Regions from separate parts of the Homo sapiens genome. Here regions 2, 3, 4 and 5 are each linked to region 1. Evidence: promoter capture Hi-C in 16 types of primary human blood cells and fetal thymus (Javierre and others, 2016). All regions are on one chromosome and are shown on one strand. The core of a region is centred on a gene start or on the middle of the fragment in contact, and the rest is flanking DNA. Distances in the headings are between cores, read along the strand shown.

Region 1 (3,743 bases), core at 627-3,126:
CCGACCTTAGCTCATCCTCCTCTATTCCATTATCCCTGAAGCATTTGCCTCCTCATGTATCTCCTTCCCAAAAGACAAGATGGCTGGCAGCACGGAAGTGAAAAGGGAAAGAAAGGCTGTTTAAAAAAAAAAAATTCTAAAATGAGTCACCTTTCAAGAATTTCCCATTTCCTCATGCCTGGGTGCTTCCTCGTGTCGCTAAATCAGTTCTTCCAATGAAACTTGATCTAAGAACCTGGTATTTGTTATGTGCACTGCTCTTGGATGATGTTTACAATGTGCACACATCTCTTTTAAGAGCTTGTAGGTATCAAACGACCTCCAGGTTGTGCATCAAAAAGACATCAGCAGCCACAGAGTCAACTTTAGTTGAGCCTGGAGAAAATCATACAAAACCGTAGAGTTTTAACTAGGTTTTGTATCATCTTTTGATAAGTTAGGAAAAATAATTACAGCTCTCCAAACTTCCCACTTAACAACTCCCAGGACCCTGCAGCACCCTAAAATCTAGCCAGCTCCAAGAATCACTCTCTACTCCATACCCGGATGAGCCTTGACTCACACTAATTCCCTCCCTGAGGCTTAAGTCAGGGGGCAGCTGATGGTTGTGGTCTGTGCTGCTTCCGCCTGGCCTATTTTTCATGCTGCCATTTTGAATTAGCATAGGTTTCCTCCGCAACTGATGCATCTTCTAACCAGGCTGGGAACACAACACGCGCACACGCGCACACACACACGCACGCACCCACCCCACCCGGCTGCCGGACGCAAGCGTAAGTCAAGGACTTGCATGCTAGAATCAGACAGAAAATCCAGAAAAGCCACGTTATTTAACAGAACCCTACAAGGTCAGCTTTGAGTCAAAGCAGGTAACAGTTTCCTTCGATGTTTTCATGGACATTTTTATTCCCAAATCCGAGTTCTCGCCAATTCTCTAAAGTTCAAGCGCCCCTCCTGCTTTGCAGACCACATTTCTCTCGGCCCTCGCGAGTGAGGTCGCCAAATACTCGACGCCTCAAGAGCGAGCCGAGGAGGCAGAGGCCGACCAAGCCGGCCTCTCGGCAGCCCCGCCCGGCGCCCCGCGGAGAACGCCCGGGTGCGGCTCGAGGGAAGTTGTGTCAAGTCCCACGCGCGGCCCGCGGAGAACCCAGGGGCGGCCCGCGCGCGTCGGCCTAGCGGGGAGGGCTGCTCCGGGACACGGTGCGGCGGCCGCGGGCGAGTTGGACGCGCTGGCAGAGCCGGGCCGAAGGCGGCGGGCGTCTCCGGGCAGCCATGTTCGCGGCGCCCGCCCGCGCAGCAGGTACGGCACCTCGGGGAAGGTGCCCGGCTCGCCCCAGACCCCAGGGTGGCGAGGCCAGGGGCCCACAGGCACATCCCAGTGGGCAGCAGGTTGGCTGCCAGGAAAAGGAAACCCAGGAAGAGCAGCGCGGGGAACCCGGCTGCGGTGCGGGAGCCCGGGGCCGGCATCCCTCCACTGCACCCCCGCAGTCCCCGAGCCGAGTCACCCCGGCTTCAGGCCGAGGCCACCTCTCCTCTGACCGCCCCCAGGCTCCCAGCCCGCCCGGGCCAGCACCGGGAATCGGCCTGGGGTAACGCTACCCGCGGGTTCGGAGGGACAGCGGGAGGAGATGAAACGCAGGAGGTGGCGATGGCGGGTGGGGTGAAACCGCCGGGAAAGCAGCGCTGCAAACGCCCTGCGCTCCCAGACGCGGCTCACCTGGGGCGGCGGGCTCCGGGCTCCGCTCTCCGCTCTGCGGTGCTGAGGCTGCGGCCGCCGAGGGTGCGGGTGCTGCCGGGTCCGGATTACTGCGGCGACCTCGGGGGCTGCAGCTGCAGTGGCGGAGGCGGCCGCCGGGCGCTTCCCCCTACCCAGACTCCCGGCGCTGGGGCCCGCCGCCCCCCGCAGCAGCTGGCCCGACTCACGTGACCGCGGGCCCACCCTCCGCCTCCCCCACCCCGGCCCCCGGGGCCCCGCCGCACCCCGCGCGTCTGGCTGCACGGGCCGCGGCGCTGCTCACCGTCGAGTAGGGAGGGGGCCTGGGAGCTGGAGGAGCGGCCGAGAGGGCGTATCTCGCCGCAGAAAGTGGCCCCCTCTTTGCTAGATTTTTATTTCTTGGTTGTGGCTCTCAAAAGGGAAAACCCGGGCTTCAAGGAGCCAGGCCCAGCATCCTTTTGGCGCCTCTTCCCGACGTTTGGTTGCTACGTCCGGGCCTCGGCGCCCACACAAGATTTCCCCGGAGAGAAATGTGTCCTGTACCTTGTTGACTCGCACGTCCAAGTCGAGTCCCTGGTTTTAAAAGTGCCGTCCTGTACCATGTTGGTAAGCCAGACCCTGTCCCAGGTACTTGGACATTGTGGCCTAGAGAGGTTAAGTAACTTGCCCAAGGTCACACAGCACGTAACTAAGCCAAGATTCCATATCTGGGTTAATAAAGTTATGTACAGGGACTTGTGTGTTGTGTGTCTGTGTGTGTGTGTGTGTGTGTGTGTTGATGCCAGCGTCAACTCCATCTTTTATAAGTAAATAAGAAAAGACTATCTCAAAAGATATGAAGACGTAATTCAGAGGAAAATAAATGCAATTCTATCCTGGCACACGAAAAGATATTCAGGCTCACTTAACTGCAAATCAAATATGTGGGGTAGCATCTTCCACCAGCCAGATTAACAAAAATCAAAACATTTTGAGTCTTGCTTTGTCGCCCAGTCTGGAATGCAGTGGCAGGATCTCGGCTCACTGCAAACTCCGCCTCCTGCCTCCCGCCTCCCGCCTCCCGCCTCCCGGGTTCAAGCGATTCTCGTGCCTCAGCCTCCCAAGTGGCTGAGACTACAGACCCACGCCACCAGCCTCGCTAATTTTTTTTGATTTTTAGTAGAGATGGGGTTTCACCATGTTGCCCAGGCCGGTCTCAAACTCCTGAGCTTAGGCAATCCGCCTGCCTCTACTATCCAGCTTCCTTTAAAAAGGAGAATGATCTTTATTTGCTAATACAAAACTATTTCCAACCTATACTAACTAAAGAAAAATAAAAAGCTAGGTGCAGAACGTTGTGTGTGTTATTTGTGGGAAGAAAATATATATGTATGTCTGTACTTATTTTTGTAAATGCACAGAGTATCTTTGGAAGAGTACGTAAGAACCTGTAATAGATGCCACCAGGGAGCAGAACTGGGAGACTGGGTGCTGGGGAGAGAAGGAGACTTTTTTCCATGCCCTTTGAATGTTGAGCCTGTGCTTACAGTCTGACACATGAGTAAACGGATAGTGGGGAAGGGCTGAGGAAGTTGGTGTAGGTACTGCAGAATAGAGCATTGGTTCGTAGACTCTTGGAGCACAAAGGTACTTTACTGTTCTTTTAGTCTAGCCAAGAAAACTGTAGCCAATGAGTCTAAATAATCAATATTAGAAATTTCTAGCGGGCTTATTCCTGGGTTCCAGCCCAGATCTATGGAATTCAGAGTCTCTGGGGCTGGAGCCAGGGAACCCGCATTTTTCAAGCTCTTTAGTTGTTTCTCTTGCATGTTAAAGTCTGAAAGTCCGTGAGGTGTGGGTAGGGAGAGCATTAGGAAAAATAGGTAATGCATGCTGGGCTTAATACCTAAGTGATGGGTTGATAGGTGCAGCAAACCACCGTGGTACACGTTTACTTATATAACAAATCTGCACATCCTGCATATATACCCCAGAACTTAAAATAAATATTAAACTTTTTTTAAAAGTCTCAGAGTCGCTGTTTTATTTT
Region 2 (3,743 bases), core at 616-3,115, 620 kb after region 1:
GTTTAATCTTCATCATATTCCTGCATAGCAAGGTAGAAGCTGTTCTCCCCTGTTCTTAGAGAGGTTAGGTAAGAACTTAATCTTTAGTCACACAACCCATAAGTGGTGTAGAGTTGGGAGATACGCCAAGGTCTTTCTGAACTCGAAGCTTCAGTTATTATGGCCATTAATTGATTTACTGAATTATTTTGTTTCTGTTAGGAAACTTTTAAGTTTTAAATACTGCTTACTATTAGATGGTTTGTCATAGTCACTTGAAATTCTTAAATTGGAGGGCATACATCATTTTACAGGATTTGGCACTGATGATCAATGTATAGAATGTGCAATACACTGGAAAATGCTGAGGTGAATAAGATACAGCTTCTGTCTTCTAGGCGCTTAATATCTAATGGGAAAGGAAAGTTCAATGCACATTTAATTACTCCATTGAGGAGAGGGTGGTGGCTATTAATAGTATATTTGCTTGACTGGATCTTTAAAATACAGAGAAATGCAGAAATGCACCTTAAATATGTTCAGAGTAGTAAAATTCAGCTTTGAAAACTTATTTAGGTAATTTCAGATTCTTGCCAACCAATAACTATTATAATTGAATAAGAGGTATTTTGCTTTATCTTTCACTTTGAAACAGTGACTATATGAGTTTTAGGTCCCAGAAGGATATTTTTTTCTCTCTTGATAAATGGAAAGTGAATAAATTGGTTATGGTTTTAATGTGGGTGTCCTGAAGGTTAGGTTAATTGTGATGTTCCTGAATTTTGTGTGATTGTAGCAGTGGATGGCTAGGGTTATATATAATACTTTATATCTTATGCCTTGTTTTCTCTGTCTTTTACACTAATTTCTTTATATGTCTTTTAGCTTGATAACTATGGACAGCAAGAACTTGCGGATCTTTTTGTGAACTATAATGTAAAATCTCCCATTACTGGAAATGATCTATCCCCTCCAGTGTCTTTTAACTTAATGTTCAAGACTTTCATTGGGCCTGGAGGAAACATGCCTGGGTATGTATCACTTATTGTTTACCTGTTTATGTAATGAAGTTTTTAAAATTGCTTATATTAAAAGGTAAATATCAATGTTATGAAGGAAAAATTTTTAAAAAGTGATATACAGAAGTACAGATGAATGTATTATGGAGAAATAATGGCAGAAATAAATCTTTTAAAAAATTCTTTCTGAATATAATTTCTTTTTTGGCATATATGTATTTTTTTGGCATAAAATAAAGTCTCTGATCACTATATCTTCTAGTTATAGCTGCATAGGGTAGAAGGGACAGTTGAAGAATGGTTTTAAAAGCCGTTGAACTTATTGCTGAAGGATATTTTAGAAACCATTTAGTTTAGCATGCTACTGTCCAACGGAACTTTCTGCAGTGATGGAAATGTTCTGTAATGTGTGTTGTCCAGTATGATTAGCTACCAGCCACATTTGGCTCTTGAGCACTCATAATGGGTCCAGTTCTTCTGAGGCACTGAATTTTAAAATTTATTTCATCTTAATTGAAATTTAAATAGACATCTGCCTGGTGTCCTACCATATTGGACAGCATAGGTATAGCCTGTTGATTTGAAAGATGTGGTTTTCATGGATAAAGAATATCTGGTTAGTTTACAGTATGATTCAGAATTGGAATCTTTATCTTCTGATTCCTTGTCCACTGTTTAACAGACTTAGCCAGTGTTCCATTTCATAGCTTTAGATATTTTTCTATGATAGGGTAAGAGAGTAAGTTTTTCCTACATGAGCTAGATAGATCGTGTTTCCCAGAGTAGGGACTGAAGAATAAGAAAAATTAATTGTGACAAAATGTGTTGCAGTTAATTATTCTAATGAGACATCAGGTTGATTTGGAATATTTCATGGAAAGAGGCCAGTGGCAAGCCTTTCATTTTGGCCATATGTACAGAGTCATAAAATGAGACATAACCTGTGACCCAGACATTCCATTTCTGGGAATTGATCTAAGGAAATAATTCAGAAGGAAAGGAAATTATACTTAGAAGAAGTATATAAATTGAAAGTAGAAATAACCTATTCAGTAATTTGAGAGTGGTTAAACAAATTATGGTAAAGTGGATTAGTTTGGGATAATATTCTGTCACTATTAAATGTGAGAAATTTGTGCCATTATTTAGAAAATGGGAAGTATAAAATAGGTAATACATGATTTTATACATACTAACTGTAAATATATGTATAAACTTTACTTACATTTGGATGAAATCTGGAAAGGGCCATAAAAATCAAAAGAGTTGGTCTGTTAAGTAAGAAGAGGGTACAATTTTAGGGTTTTTAGCCCTTGGTTTTAAAGTTATTTTAGTAAAATACTTATTCTGAAGTAGGCCATTGGGAGCGTTTCCTTAGTGGATGTTTTGCACAGAATATCTTCTAGGAAATTGAGAGGGCAGTGGTTATAGTAGTGTATTTGCTTGACTATATCTTTAAAATACAGAGAAATGCGGAAGCCTCTGGTTGAAAATATAAAATACTGCAGATAATAAAATGATTTGAAAAACATTGAAAATTACCTGGCTTGGTGAGGTGATAGTGATAAGTGAGTGCTGATGTTAAATGTGAGCCTATACTGATTTCTTTTTAGCCCCTCAGTTAAGTTTTAATATGTGGGTTAACAGGGCTAAACATAGGCATGGGTATTATTTTCCAAAGGACCTAAGATTGTCATCTGCCTCCATGTACATGATGACTTAGAAGACATCAGGGGTTTAAGGGGCACTATGGGAGAGGTGGTGTTTTTTGTTTGTTTGTTTTGAGATGGAGTTTCGCTCTTGTTGCCCAGGCTGGAGTGCAATGGCGTGATCTCGGCTCACTGCAACCTCTGCCTCCCAGGTTCAAGCGATTCTCTTGCCTCAGCCTCCTGAGTAGCTGGGATTACAGGCATGTGCCACCACGCCTGGCTAATTTTGTGTTTTTAGTAGAGACAGGGTTTCTCCATGTTGGTCAGGCTGATCTCGAACTCCCAACCTCAGGTGATCCGCCCACTTCAGCCTCCCAAAGTGCTGGGATTACAGGTGTGAGCGACTGCGCGCGGCCTGAGGTGGTGTTTTTAAATTTATTTTTATTTCTGCTTTTTGAGAAGTGGGGTTTTGACTCACTGGTGTAATTAAATGAAATGGCATTGCCAAAGTAGTACTGCCACACTAATTACTTAATACATTTTCTAATACGTGCTATGAAAATGTTTGCTACCGAGGAAAATATTTCTAAAACTTCATTTTAGGGCCTGTTCAACTTTGTTGTGAAAATGGTATATTTAGGACTTTTAGGATTTGTATCTAGAATTTCAGGATTGTTGGAAAACATAATTTCTTTCTTTGTAACAGACTGACTTACTTAAATTTATAGGTACTTGAGACCAGAAACTGCACAGGGGATTTTCTTGAATTTCAAACGACTTTTGGAGTTCAACCAAGGAAAGTTGCCTTTTGCTGCTGCCCAGATTGGAAATTCTTTTAGAAATGAGATCTCCCCTCGATCTGGACTGATCAGAGTCAGGTACTGCTCAGGTTACTCTTACAAATTAGTGAATGACCTTGGCATTGCATTGAAAATGAAAGCTTGCTGTTTTGAAGCAATTCTGCTTCATAATCCTGATTATGAATTTATTTTTGTTTTCTCCAAAAATCATGTTTTACATTTGGAATCTCTAAATGTAATCTCCAGGATGACAGGCAGTTTTGAGTGACAAAAGTGAACTTGAAGGGAAAGGAAGG
Region 3 (3,743 bases), core at 541-3,040, 580 kb after region 1:
AGCTTTAGGTTCCCTGTCTCCAGACCCTATTCTCCTGCCTCATTTTCCCCTGAGAGATGTGATCCCCATAAATCTTTCTGGGAGGCAGAGGGACCCATGGTCTTTCTTCCATAACTACTTCATGCTGACTTGGGGCACAGTCCCTACCTACTGGGGATTACAGAACTCTCACCCTGCTCTGTCTAGTGGAGACAAGGTTACTTCTTGGTGGCCGGGGTTGACATCATTATCTGAAACTGACTGGTGGCCCTGCTGCATTATCATAATGGTCTCTAGGCAAGAAGAAATAAATCTGGTTAAAAGATTTAACAAACATGATCCAAAAGCCAAGGCAAGTATAATAATTAATAGTGGACTGGCCAGAGGAAGGAGATGTGAGCCCCAAATTAGCATTTTGACTAGGCGCCCCATGACTCAGACAGCTGTTGTCATATCTTATGGTACCAATCGGCTAGTTTTTGGGTGGCATCCCTTACTAATCCTGTTTGGTTGACATAAAAACAGCATTCTTCCTCTAGGAAAAAGACATAAGCCACCTTCTTCAGCATTTAGGAGATCCAGTCCCCTTCTATTTTACAAAGCCACCACTGCCAAAGACTCTATCTGATTTTGTAAGGTGATGATACTTTTGGGCAATGTCACCTAAGCTTTCCATAAAATCCTTGGACAAGCATTGGTAATAGGATAGGGAAACTGCAAGGCTGCTAACTCTCATTCCTACTCCTGCTGTTATTCCTAGCTCTACCGAAAGTGGTATCAGTTGGATGGCTCATTTGTGTCTGGTGGTTGCAGTTAAAAGTATAATGAAGGATTGGTTGTTGGGAGCTATATTAATTTCGGGGGCTAAATAAACAACTGTATAGGTTCCAGTCCAATTGGCTGGTAAAACATAAGTAGGAACTGGTCCCACACGGGAAAAAGAGTCCTTGTTTTTCAAGACAAAATTGTTTTCTATGGTGAACATGTGGGTTAGCTTGTTGTTTTCACTTTCCCAAGTTATTAAAGTCCCTGGTAAGGTGGCCAAGGGAAAATGTGAACACAGCTAGTGGGCCTACCTTAACGGTATTTAGACTATATATTTAAAGTGTCCTTGACTAGGGATGGTTTCCATAAAAACTGTACAGGTTTTCTAAATGATGCAGCTTGGGTAACTGCATAGCTTACATGATCATGTGAGGGTTTAATCTGTATGGTGTAGTTACATTGGTGACTTTAGATGTCCCAGGGCGGGACCAAAATTTTGGCTTCTCTCAATACAAAGTGTTGCCTGGAATTTTAGTGCTTTGCGCACTGATATGTGCATTGAGATTGGGCCCCAAATGGGTTTCTGAGGGGATGCAACCCCAGAAAGTTTGCTCTGATAGGACTGGGGAAGGTTTACTGCTCATTCTGACATTGTAACCCTTGTCATTTCCATAATTTTAAGGCTATATAAGTCAGCCAGGTTCATTAATTTGAAAGGAGTTTCTCCCTTGTAGTTAGGATGTTAAGTTATTTTTTCAAGGGCCCAAGATTGGGCTGGGATCAGGATTGGTAGTCTGTTTGGATGATGATGGAGATAAACAAAGCCAACAGTGCCTTGCCAAAGCTGGACTGGTGGTATTTAACAGTCTTTGTGTTAAAGTTTTTAATAAATACCCAGAATCCATTAATTACCAGAGGGGTAAAGCGAAACTCTTTTGTAAAATAAAGCTGATTATCAGTATGCATGGTCTTAGTATACACAGGCTGTGGGTGACCATTATGGTATAAAAAAAAAATACTTATTTGTTATTTTGTTCTATAGATAAAAATTAATTAAAACACTTTAAAAGAAGTGATTCAATCCATTTGGAAGAAAGCAATTAAATTGTAAAAATATAAAAATGGCTACTATTATATCCAGCTTACAGTAAATATACAAGAAGGACACCAAGGAAAGTTGATAGGAATTTACTTATCTTTTGGCTGCCTTTTAAACAGGTACTTCAGGTCTTCTACAGGTTCACAGGTTTAGTGGCTGATGGGATCTTCAGGTTCCAGGTCTGGGGGCTTCAGTTATTGCAGGCTGGACCCTGGAAAGACATATCCAACTAACTATTCCCAGTACTTTGACTGGAGAAGGCATGGCCAGTACCACTGAAAATAGTCCCTTCCATTTGGGTTGTAATTGTTCAGCAGGTGATCCCTCCTTCCATGTTTTAACAAGTACTTTATCTCCTGGCCTGATTTTGGGTTGCTGGTTAGTTCCTGGTGTGGGGAGTCTTTGAGTTCTAAACTTTTGTAAAGCCTGCTGAAATTGTCCCAGGTTAATTACGCATGTTACTAAACTGGCTGTTTCTGGATCAGTAATTAGATCATTATTTAAAAATGGCCAGCCAGGAGCGGTGGTTCATGCCTGTAATCCCAGCATTTTGGGAGGTTGAGGCAGGCGAATCACCTGAGGTCAGGAGGTCAAGACCAGCCTGGCCAACATGATGAAACCCTGTCTCTACTAAAAATACAAAAACTAGTCAGGCATGGTGGCACATGCCTGTAATCCCAGCTACTCAGGAGGCTGAGGCAGGAGAATTGCTTGAACCAGGGAGGCAGAGGTTGCAGTGAGCCAAGACTGTGCCATTGCACTCCAGCCTGGGTGACAAGAGCAAAACTCCATCTCAAAAAAAAATGGCCTTCTGTATAACATTTCATATGAGCTCATATTAATTTTTGCTCTAGGAGAATTAAGGGTTCTTAAGAGGGCTACAGGCAATAAGCTGACCCAAATTTCTGATGTTTTCTAACATAGCTTAGCTAACACCCATTTTAAGAGCTTGATTAGCCCTTTCTACTTTCCCATGTAAATAATTTTTGATTCTGAGAGCCTTAGCAGCCCCTTGAGTTCTAAAAGATGGGTCTTTATCACTTTAGAGGCTTTGGGGTAACCCAAACTAGGGGATTTATTTCCTTTAAAAGAAGCTTAGCAACTTCATGAGCCTTCTTTGTTCTCATAGAGCAAGCTTCAACCCAGCCAGTAAAAGTATCTATTACTACTACCAAAAACTTGTATACTTTGCACACTGGCATATGGGTGAAGTCTAATTGCCAGTCTTCCCCTTTAACTTTAGCCAATATGTTCACACACAGAATCTCTTTTACAATTAATTTTTCATAAGCCTTCCACAACTTGTTCAAACCTTTTAGATTATTCCTATCTCACTTAAAACCATCCTTTCACCCTCTAAACTTAGGCAAGAAATCCACATTCCCATGCTTTTTACCAAAGGTACATTATCCTTTTCTTACATGAATTCTTTTCATAACTTACCCAGACCATCTACAAAATGCTTGGACTTTCTGAGTTTTCCTAAACATCTTTCTTTTTAAACAACCAGTCATTTTACGTTAGGACAAGAATTTATCGTACAAGATCTTTTCTCCTACAAAGCCACCATCTCTACAATCTTCCCTCACAAAAACATATCTTCATATATATAACTTTCTTCACATCTCTCCCCTACTTACTGGTTCCTTACTACCTTGTTTCATAAATAACTCTTTTTTTTAAAGTCCATAATTTGAATTAACTTTCAGATAACCTCCAAACTACACAAAATAATTCTTTCTCACCAATAACACATTTTTTGGCATATTTTGTATACAGAATTATATATTAACTATAATTCATATCCTTATGTATTAGTCTGTTTTCATGCTGCTGATAAAGACATACTTAAGACTGGGCAATTTACAAAAGAAAGAGGTTTATTGGACTTACATTTCCA
Region 4 (3,743 bases), core at 877-3,376, 570 kb after region 1:
CATGTTGGCCAGGCTGGCCTGTATTTTTTTTTTTTTTGTGGTAAAACATACATAACATTTATCATTTTAACCACTTTTAAGTGTACAATTCAGTGACATTAGATACATTCACAATGTTTTGCAGCCATCACCACTATCTATTTCCAAAACTTTTCTATCAGTCCAAGGTGAAACTCTATACCCATTGTAATAGTCTGTTCTCACGCTGCTATAAAGATACTACCTGAGACTGGGTAATTTATGAAGAAAAGAGGTTTGATTGATTCACAATTCTGTGTGCCTGGGGAAGCCTTGGGAAACACTCTCATGGTGGAAGGTGAAGGTAAGCAAGGCAGATCTCTTCACAAAGTGGCAGGAGAGAGAGAAAAAGAGAGACAGAAGGGAGCCACATACTTTTAAACCATCGAATCTCATGAGAACTCACTCACTATCACAAGAATCACCTCCATGATCCAATCATCTCCCACCAGGTCCCTCCCTTGACATGGGATTACAATTTGAGATGAGATTTGGGTGGGGACCCAGAGCCAAACCGTATCACCCATTAAACAATAACTTCCCATTCTCCCCTTCCTCCAGCTCCTGAAAACCTCCATTCCGCTTTCTGTCTTTATGGATTGACTATTCATGGTACATTGTATAAGTGGCACCATATAATATTTGCCCTTTTGAGTCTGGCTTATTTCATTTTGCATAATGTCTTCAAGGTTTATCCATGGGGTAGCATGTATCAGAATTTCATTCCATTTTATGGCAGAATAACATTTCATTTTGTTTATCCATTCACCTGTTTCTGTAACCTTTAGACTTCTTTTTATCCCTTAGTGGCTAACCCTCTATTATTAGTTCATGATTATTTATATTACACTTTCCCTGTTGACATTGTATAGCTCCTCTCTCCTGCCTGATACATCTGTCTTAGGAAACTGCCTTTCCATCCTTGTGACTGATGGGGCCAATCATGGAACCTCATTTCCCTCACCATATATTGTATTGGCCCATCACTCTGATAATAGTGCTGTGTGCCAGGGTAGGTACACAACCAACCAAAAGCAATCCCATGCCTTCCCCAGGATGGAAAGATGAGTACTGGGAAAAGGCTTTTCACTGGGATTGCCACACTGGGGTTCTTGAGGCCACATTCTTAGATACGTTTAGGGGCTCATCTTGTGGTGGGAGAAATTGAGGCCAACAGGCAAAGAGCAATACAGATGAAAGTGAAAAATGGAGAGGTTTCTCATATACCTGGAGAAAGTGCAGCACGAGAAGAAGGTTAAAATTTAAGGAAGTGAGAGCACAAATAAGAGAGTGAGAAAGAGCAGCTGGATGTACAGAGGACACATCAGGAGATAGCGGATCATGATACCATGAAAATCAGACTGTCAAGGCAGCATTTTCTAAAAGAAGGGATGAGTAAAAGTAGGCTGGAAAATGCCACTGGCTTGGGCACTAGGTTGTGGTTGACCTTGGTGACAGCAGAGGCAGCAGAGGCCCGGCATGGCCTGGCCTCGGTGCCTCTCCATGGCCATCTCCGGCACCCTGGAGATGCCATCCTCTGGCCATACTTGCCATTTCACGGAGCTGCCACAGCTCTCAAGCTTCTCCATTTTCCTTGACCCATCCCAGTTTGTCCTCTTGACCAACTCTGACTGATTCTCCAAAATTCAGCTCAACCTTAGGTCTCCAGGTCAGTTTCTCCCAAAGAGGAGGAGATGCTCCCCACCCAGCCCTTTGTGTGTCCCTTCCTTTGATGACGTGTGATTACACTGTTTACTGTAAATGTCTGCCTCCTCCTCCAGTCTATGAGCTCCTTAAAAACAAGGACTTAGCCTTTTGCATCTTTGTATTCCAAGCACTCAGCCCAGGGCCTGGCTCTGAAATGAGCTCAGTGCATATTAATGGATCAATGCCTGGAGGGACACACCCGCTGATCTGATCCTTTTTTAGAAAAACACGATCTGGTTGCCATGGCGCTGAAAGAGCGCTTTCTATACCTGCTGTTTTCAGGATGAGCAAATCACTTTCAGCTGACCACACTGTGGCATCTGGCCAGCAGGATCTGCAGAATCCAGCAGGATGGATGCTGAGCCAACTCTGAGATGGAAGAGACACTTTTCCTCCTTCCGAGCAGGTAAACTATTGAGTAACATCAAAGAATTTCATTTTTTCTACCCCTGGAAGATTTAAAGGGCTCCTCTTTTGTCAATATCCCCCTAGCTCTCCTGCCAGTTTTCTCTCACCTCCTGTACAGTTTTTCTGTCTCCTTATCTGCTGCTACTCTAAGACAGGGCTTTAGCCTATAGGCCAAATCTGGCCCACCACCTGTTTTTGCAAATAAAGTTTTATTGGAAGACAGCCATACCCATTTGTTTACATATTGTCTATGGCTGCTTATACTCTACAATGGTAGAGCTGTGGCAGAGATTGCATGCCTGCAAAACTGAACATATTTACTATCTGGCCCCTTGCAAAAAATAAAAAGTTTTCTGACGGTATACTAGAGAATGAGCTTCAGCTGATAAGAGATGATAAGGAAATAGTGCAACTCAAAAATGGGACAAGGGAAATAGAGAAAAACGGAATATGCCCCTAGATTGTTGTATGAGCAATGGATGGGAGATGAAGAATACTGCAGTATTTATAAACCAGATAGTAAAAGCTTAAACAAGAAAATAAGAGTAAGAGCCAAGGGAGGCTGAGGTGAGAGGATTGCTTGTGCGCTGGATCGCCTGACTGAGACCATCCTGGGCAACACAGGGAGACACCATTTCTACAAAAAATACAAAAAAATTAGCTTGTTGTGGTGGCACATGACTGTAGTCCCAGCTACTCAGGTGGCTGAGGTGGGAGGACTTACTGAGCCCAGGAGGCCAAGGCTTTGATGAGCCAGGATCATGCCATTATACTCCAGCCTGGGCAAAGAGCAAGACCCTGTCTTAAAAAAAAAATTAAGAGCATTTTAAAAAGTGTACATATAAAATAACCACTGGAATAAAATTACAAACCTTTATAAATATAATTTTTAAAGTAAAAAAAAATACATTGCATGGCAATACAATTGCCATGCAGATACATGCAATACAATTGCATAGCAGATACAATACATGATCAATATAAAGTAATGTGGCAGAATGGAGACCCAATATATCAGTTGTATCAGTAAATATGAGAGGACTCATAAAAAGAAAACATTTTTAATTTGACTCATCCTCATCAGCCTTCTTGGCTAGAACTCCCCATTCTCTCTTGAACCCATCCAGTCAGGCTCCAGTTCTCACCACCCCCACAGAAACAACTCTTATCAAGATAACCAATGGCTTTCAAAGTTTCTATTGCTCTCTTCCCAGTCCTTATTTTTCCAAGTCTCGCAGCAGCAGTTGACAAAGGTGATCCTGTTCTCCCCATCAAAAACTGTTTCTTTACTAATTTCTGGGATAGCACCTCTCCTGGTACAGGGGAAGGAAGGAAGACTTCCTTCCCAGAGACTTCTCAGAGTTTTTTACTGGATTCTTCTCCTCTTCCTGATCTAATCGAAGGTTGGATTCTCCCAGGTCTCCTTCCATGGACCTCTTCTCTTTCCTCTCTTCACTTTTTCTCATAGTATCTTCCATCATTCCCTTGGCTTTCATGGACAGGGTGATGATCTCCAGATTTGTATCCCAGACCCTGAGGTCTTCCCTGAGCTTTAGACTCACAGACCCAACTGTCTACTCAGCTTGGCATCAGCATCCATCCTGCTGGAT
Region 5 (3,743 bases), core at 402-2,901, 520 kb after region 1:
CAGGTACCCTGGTCATACGCCCCATTGCACTTTGCATGCCTCCTTTTTAAGATGGACCATATACCTGTAACTGAATAATCCCTTGTTTAATATCTCTTCCCCTTGCCCTGACTGTAAGCATTTGGACTCCCTTCCTACAGTTGGGAAATTCCCTACCTTACGAGTTTGGGAATAGGGAGTATCAGAGCCTGACTCCCATTTTTGAGGCTTCAAAGGCCAGAAGCTGGTTCTCTCAGTTTTGCTTAAAATCACGGCATGGGTACGTGGCCAAAACTTAGCCAATCGGGACATTCTGGGGCTTTCAATTAGAAGCTAGTGCCCAAGACAGCAGGGACTCCAGAGAGGCTGACACATTTGGGTTTCAGGAACTGCAGGGATGTACAGAGGCAGGCAGTGTCCAGGGCAGGGGGTGGTGGACAATACAGCATCCACGTTTACCAAGTTCAGCAGTGGCGTGGAAGAGGCTCCGTGGGCTGGTTCTGTTGTGTGATGCCCACTGTATTACAGTTGCTGTGCCTCCCTTTATGCTTGTCCGTTTTGTCAGCTTTGTACTCCTGCCTTCCTGGTCATTCTGTGAGCTCTCCAATAGCCTTTCAACACATTCTTTTTTTTTTTTTTTTTTTTTTTTTTGCTTAAATCAGCCAGTTTCTGTTGCTTGCAACTAAGAACTCACGATGTTAGCAGAGATCATGTTTGTCTCATTCGACGCTGTCAAAAAGGTTTTGAACATAATCTATTGCACCTCTGTCCTACAGACTGAGAGTTCCTCGAAACAGCCACTTTACTCAATCATGTTTATACCCTTAGTGTTAAGTGCCGGAAGAATATGTACTAAATGAATGAATGGACTGGGCTGAAGAGCAATGATTTACCAACACTGGTTATAGTTCATGCAGCCCCTTGACCTAACTGAACACAGCATTATTACAAATAAGACATGGTCCCAGCTTTCAGGACCTCTTAGATGAGGAGCGAAAGGCAGGTAAACGGATTTTCACAATGCCAGGTGAGAAGTGCTGTAACAAAGGTTATGTACAGAACAGAAGGCAACCAATTCCCAGACACGGGTCAGAGAAGACTCTCCAGAAGTACCAACTGTATGCAATCTGTTAAGTTAGTGGACGAGAGGCCAAATCGGTGCAGACCGAGCAGCCGGTGCAAAGGCCAGGAGGGGGAAAGCTCCAGGCAGCCCGAGAGGGCACCGTGGCCCGGGCAGGGCCGGGCAGTGGGCGCAGCGGAGGAGGTGGACCCGCCCAGGAGGCGGAAGCCGCGTCCTAGTACCCTCATCAAGAAGAACTGCATTCCTGGCCCGATCGGCCACGTGTGCCCCCGAGGAAGCGCCTTCTGGGCATCCCGGCCCCGGCGTGGGTAGCGCGGGAGGGGGCACTCACCTGCAGGCGGGCCACACAGAAGAACGCCGCCGAGGGGTTTCGGAGGTGGATCCTCTCTGTCAGCAGGTTGCTGCCGTAGGCAAAGTACAGAAAACTCTCCTCATCTGGACCCGTGACGTCCTTGCAGCCCGAGTTGGCCATATCCCACTACGCCCCTGCACTGGAGCCTGAAGCAGAGTGTAAGGAACGGCCAGAGAGCGCAACACTGGGGCCCACTACCCCGGCGCAGTGACCGCCGCGCGGCAGCCTCAGGGTTAGGGGACTGGCGGGAAGCGTGGGCCGGTCGAGTCAGGAGCGAGCGCTCTCCTGATTGGCTGCCGGTCCCCACCGACCTGAGTCGCCCCCTTTGATTGGCCATCCCCACGGCCTTCCCTCCGCCTTCCGCCGAGACTCAGAAATAGTCTGTCCTGAAGCAATCCGGCGCTGGCTCCTCATTGGACACGACCTACTGATGTCCCGCCCCTCCTTGCTCAAGGCTTCCTCTGATTGAGGGGTGGACAGGCACTCCTCACAGGCGGGTCGGGTCCCATGGACACTGGCTGAAGGTCGTGGCGCGTGACTGGTTTCTTCGCTCTGGGGTGCTTGTGTGTGGTTCTTTGGTACTTTCTGTGCCTTAGGAAGTTCTGGTCAGATCTGAGGCGAAACAGCGGCCCAGGCGACTCCATCAACGGCTCCCTCATCCGGCAGCTCGCCGGGTCCTGCCTTCCTGGCCTAGAGGAGTCGGGCAGGACGGGTCCGTTCACCCTTTCTGCTGGTTCCGGCACCCCCAGCACTGGTCATCAATCTGACCCCTTTCCACGGACCCGTCGCCTGCTGGAGCGGCCCCTCTGAATGCTTGGGACTCCCTTCCCTGTTACATGGAAGTTACATGCCTGGGCTTAAATCCCGACGCTGCCATTTACTAGCCAAGTAACTTTGGGCACCTCTGGTCTCCGTTTCCTCTTTTTAAAAATCGGGATCATAATATAAGTTAGGGTCACAGTAGAAACCCCTATATTGTGTTTTGGTTACCCCCTCCCACACACACACACATCCTGGGTGTATTTTTTAAAACCTATATTGTTAACTTTTGAATGAACATAAGGGCATAGGAACATTGTCTATCCTTGACACCCAGCTATTAATCTCTAAATACCACCCCCCACTAAAAGGTACCAAGTGATCCTTCGAGAAATGACTGATGCCAGGTCAGGAGCTAGGAGTGAATGAGGACAACTTGGAACATCTTGTGTCAGAAGCTCAGGACGCCTCTCAAGACGAACGAGGTCCTTCTAAAAGGACATGGGAACCAGCCTGAAGTTGCCCACTGGCCAAAATTAGAACAATTTGAGAATCAAAAATAACAATGACTGCAAACTGAAAAATGATTGGAAACTTTAAACATAAAAAAGCCATTCCCCCCAAAGAGTAATCCAAATTAAAAAAAAAACTATAACTTCATTTGCCACACTATTGGTGGTGACTATTACACCAACTTTACTCTGCAAAGTGATAATTTAAGAAAACAAACAGGTATTCCGCCTTTCTAGTAGCAGCTGTATTTCGGGGTAACTGAAATACAGCTGATGACGAGCATCAGTTGATGAGGAAACAGTTCTCTTTACAAAAGTATGCCAACTAAGTCATCCTAAATGAATAATGGAATTTTATAATTGATTCATGCCAGGATCATCAGTGATATCATTTGGTGAAAAGGTGATAGGGAACAGGATATTCACTTGATGCCAAATTACTCCCTGAGGATTACTGCTGGTTACAATTTATTTATTTTATTTTTATTTTTTTGAGACAGAGTCTCACTCCGTCGCCCAGGCTGAAGTGCAGTGGTGTGATGTCGGCTCACTGCAAGCTCCGCCTCCCGGGTTCACACCATTCTCCTGCCTCAGCTTCCTGAGTAGCTGGGACTACAGGCACCCGCCACCATGCCTGGCTAATTTTTTGTATTTTTAGTAGAGACGGGGTTTCACCATGTTGGCCAGGATGGTCTTGATCTCCTGACCTCGTGATCTGCCCGCCTCGGCCTCCCAAAGTGCTGGTGTGTCCGGAATTGTGGGTTCTTGGTTTCACTGACTTAAAGAATGAAGCCGCTGACCCTCGCGGTGAGTGTTACAGTTCTTAATGATGGTGTGTCCGGAGTTCGTTCCTTCAGATGTTCAGATGTGTCTGGAGTTTCTTCCTTCTGGTGGGTTTGTGGTCTCACTGACTTCAGGAGTGAAGCTGCAGACCCTCGCGGTGAGTGTTACGGCTCTTAAAGGCGGTGCATCTGGAGTTGTTCATTCCTTCTGGTGGGTTTGTGGTCTTGCTGACTTCAGGAATGAAGCTGCAGACCTTCATGGTGAGTGTTACAGTTCA

What was found. Contacts are between HindIII fragments. The CHiCAGO score rates a contact against its expected background, and 5 or more counts as called.
Region 2: a contact is called between a fragment that was not itself captured here and the fragment with the promoter of SCRN1 in region 1, in 2 of 17 cell types (total B cells and naive B cells). The highest score is 8.7, in total B cells.
Region 3: a fragment that was not itself captured here is called in contact with the fragment with the promoter of SCRN1 in region 1 in 3 of 17 cell types (total B cells, naive B cells and neutrophils); the score reaches 10.1 in total B cells.
Region 4: a fragment that was not itself captured here is called in contact with the fragment with the promoter of SCRN1 in region 1 in 3 of 17 cell types (total B cells, neutrophils and naive B cells); the score reaches 6.6 in total B cells.
Region 5: a contact is called between the fragment with the promoter of GGCT here and the fragment with the promoter of SCRN1 in region 1, in 1 of 17 cell types (monocytes). The highest score is 6.0, in monocytes.

What each region holds. Positions count from the first base shown.
Region 1 is chr7:29,987,925-29,991,667 of GRCh38, forward strand. SCRN1 (secernin 1) reads right to left here and starts at 1,877. Exons shown (of 8, transcript NM_014766.5): 1 at 1,718-1,877. It overlaps FKBP14-AS1 (FKBP14 antisense RNA 1), which reads left to right and starts at 732. Exons shown (of 3, transcript NR_187577.1): 1 at 732-869. RefSeq lists silencers at 1,104-1,223, 1,314-1,583, 1,594-1,643, 1,664-2,003. The HindIII fragment of the contact is 11,019 bases long and covers 1-3,743 here.
Region 2 is chr7:30,608,721-30,612,463 of GRCh38, forward strand. GARS1 (glycyl-tRNA synthetase 1) reads left to right here. Exons shown (of 17, transcript NM_002047.4): 7 at 865-1,010; 8 at 3,376-3,525. Among named protein-coding and RNA genes, the nearest start is that of GARS1, 16 kb to the left of the region's middle. The HindIII fragment of the contact is 3,439 bases long and covers 147-3,585 here.
Region 3 is chr7:30,572,828-30,576,570 of GRCh38, forward strand. It overlaps GARS1-DT (GARS1 divergent transcript), which reads right to left. Exons shown (of 7, transcript NR_038889.1): 2 at 3,737-3,743. Among named protein-coding and RNA genes, the nearest start is that of GARS1-DT, 3.1 kb to the right of the region's middle. The HindIII fragment of the contact is 2,290 bases long and covers 646-2,935 here.
Region 4 is chr7:30,555,099-30,558,841 of GRCh38, forward strand. The region is part of intron 5 of GARS1-DT (GARS1 divergent transcript); the gene reads right to left. Among named protein-coding and RNA genes, the nearest start is that of GARS1-DT, 21 kb to the right of the region's middle. The HindIII fragment of the contact is 1,061 bases long and covers 1,597-2,657 here.
Region 5 is chr7:30,503,178-30,506,920 of GRCh38, forward strand. GGCT (gamma-glutamylcyclotransferase) reads right to left here and starts at 1,652. Exons shown (of 4, transcript NM_024051.4): 1 at 1,392-1,652. The coding sequence starts at 1,532. RefSeq lists enhancers at 860-1,739, 1,388-1,597, 1,740-2,618, 2,038-2,127 and a silencer at 1,058-1,237. The HindIII fragment of the contact is 6,754 bases long and covers 1-3,743 here.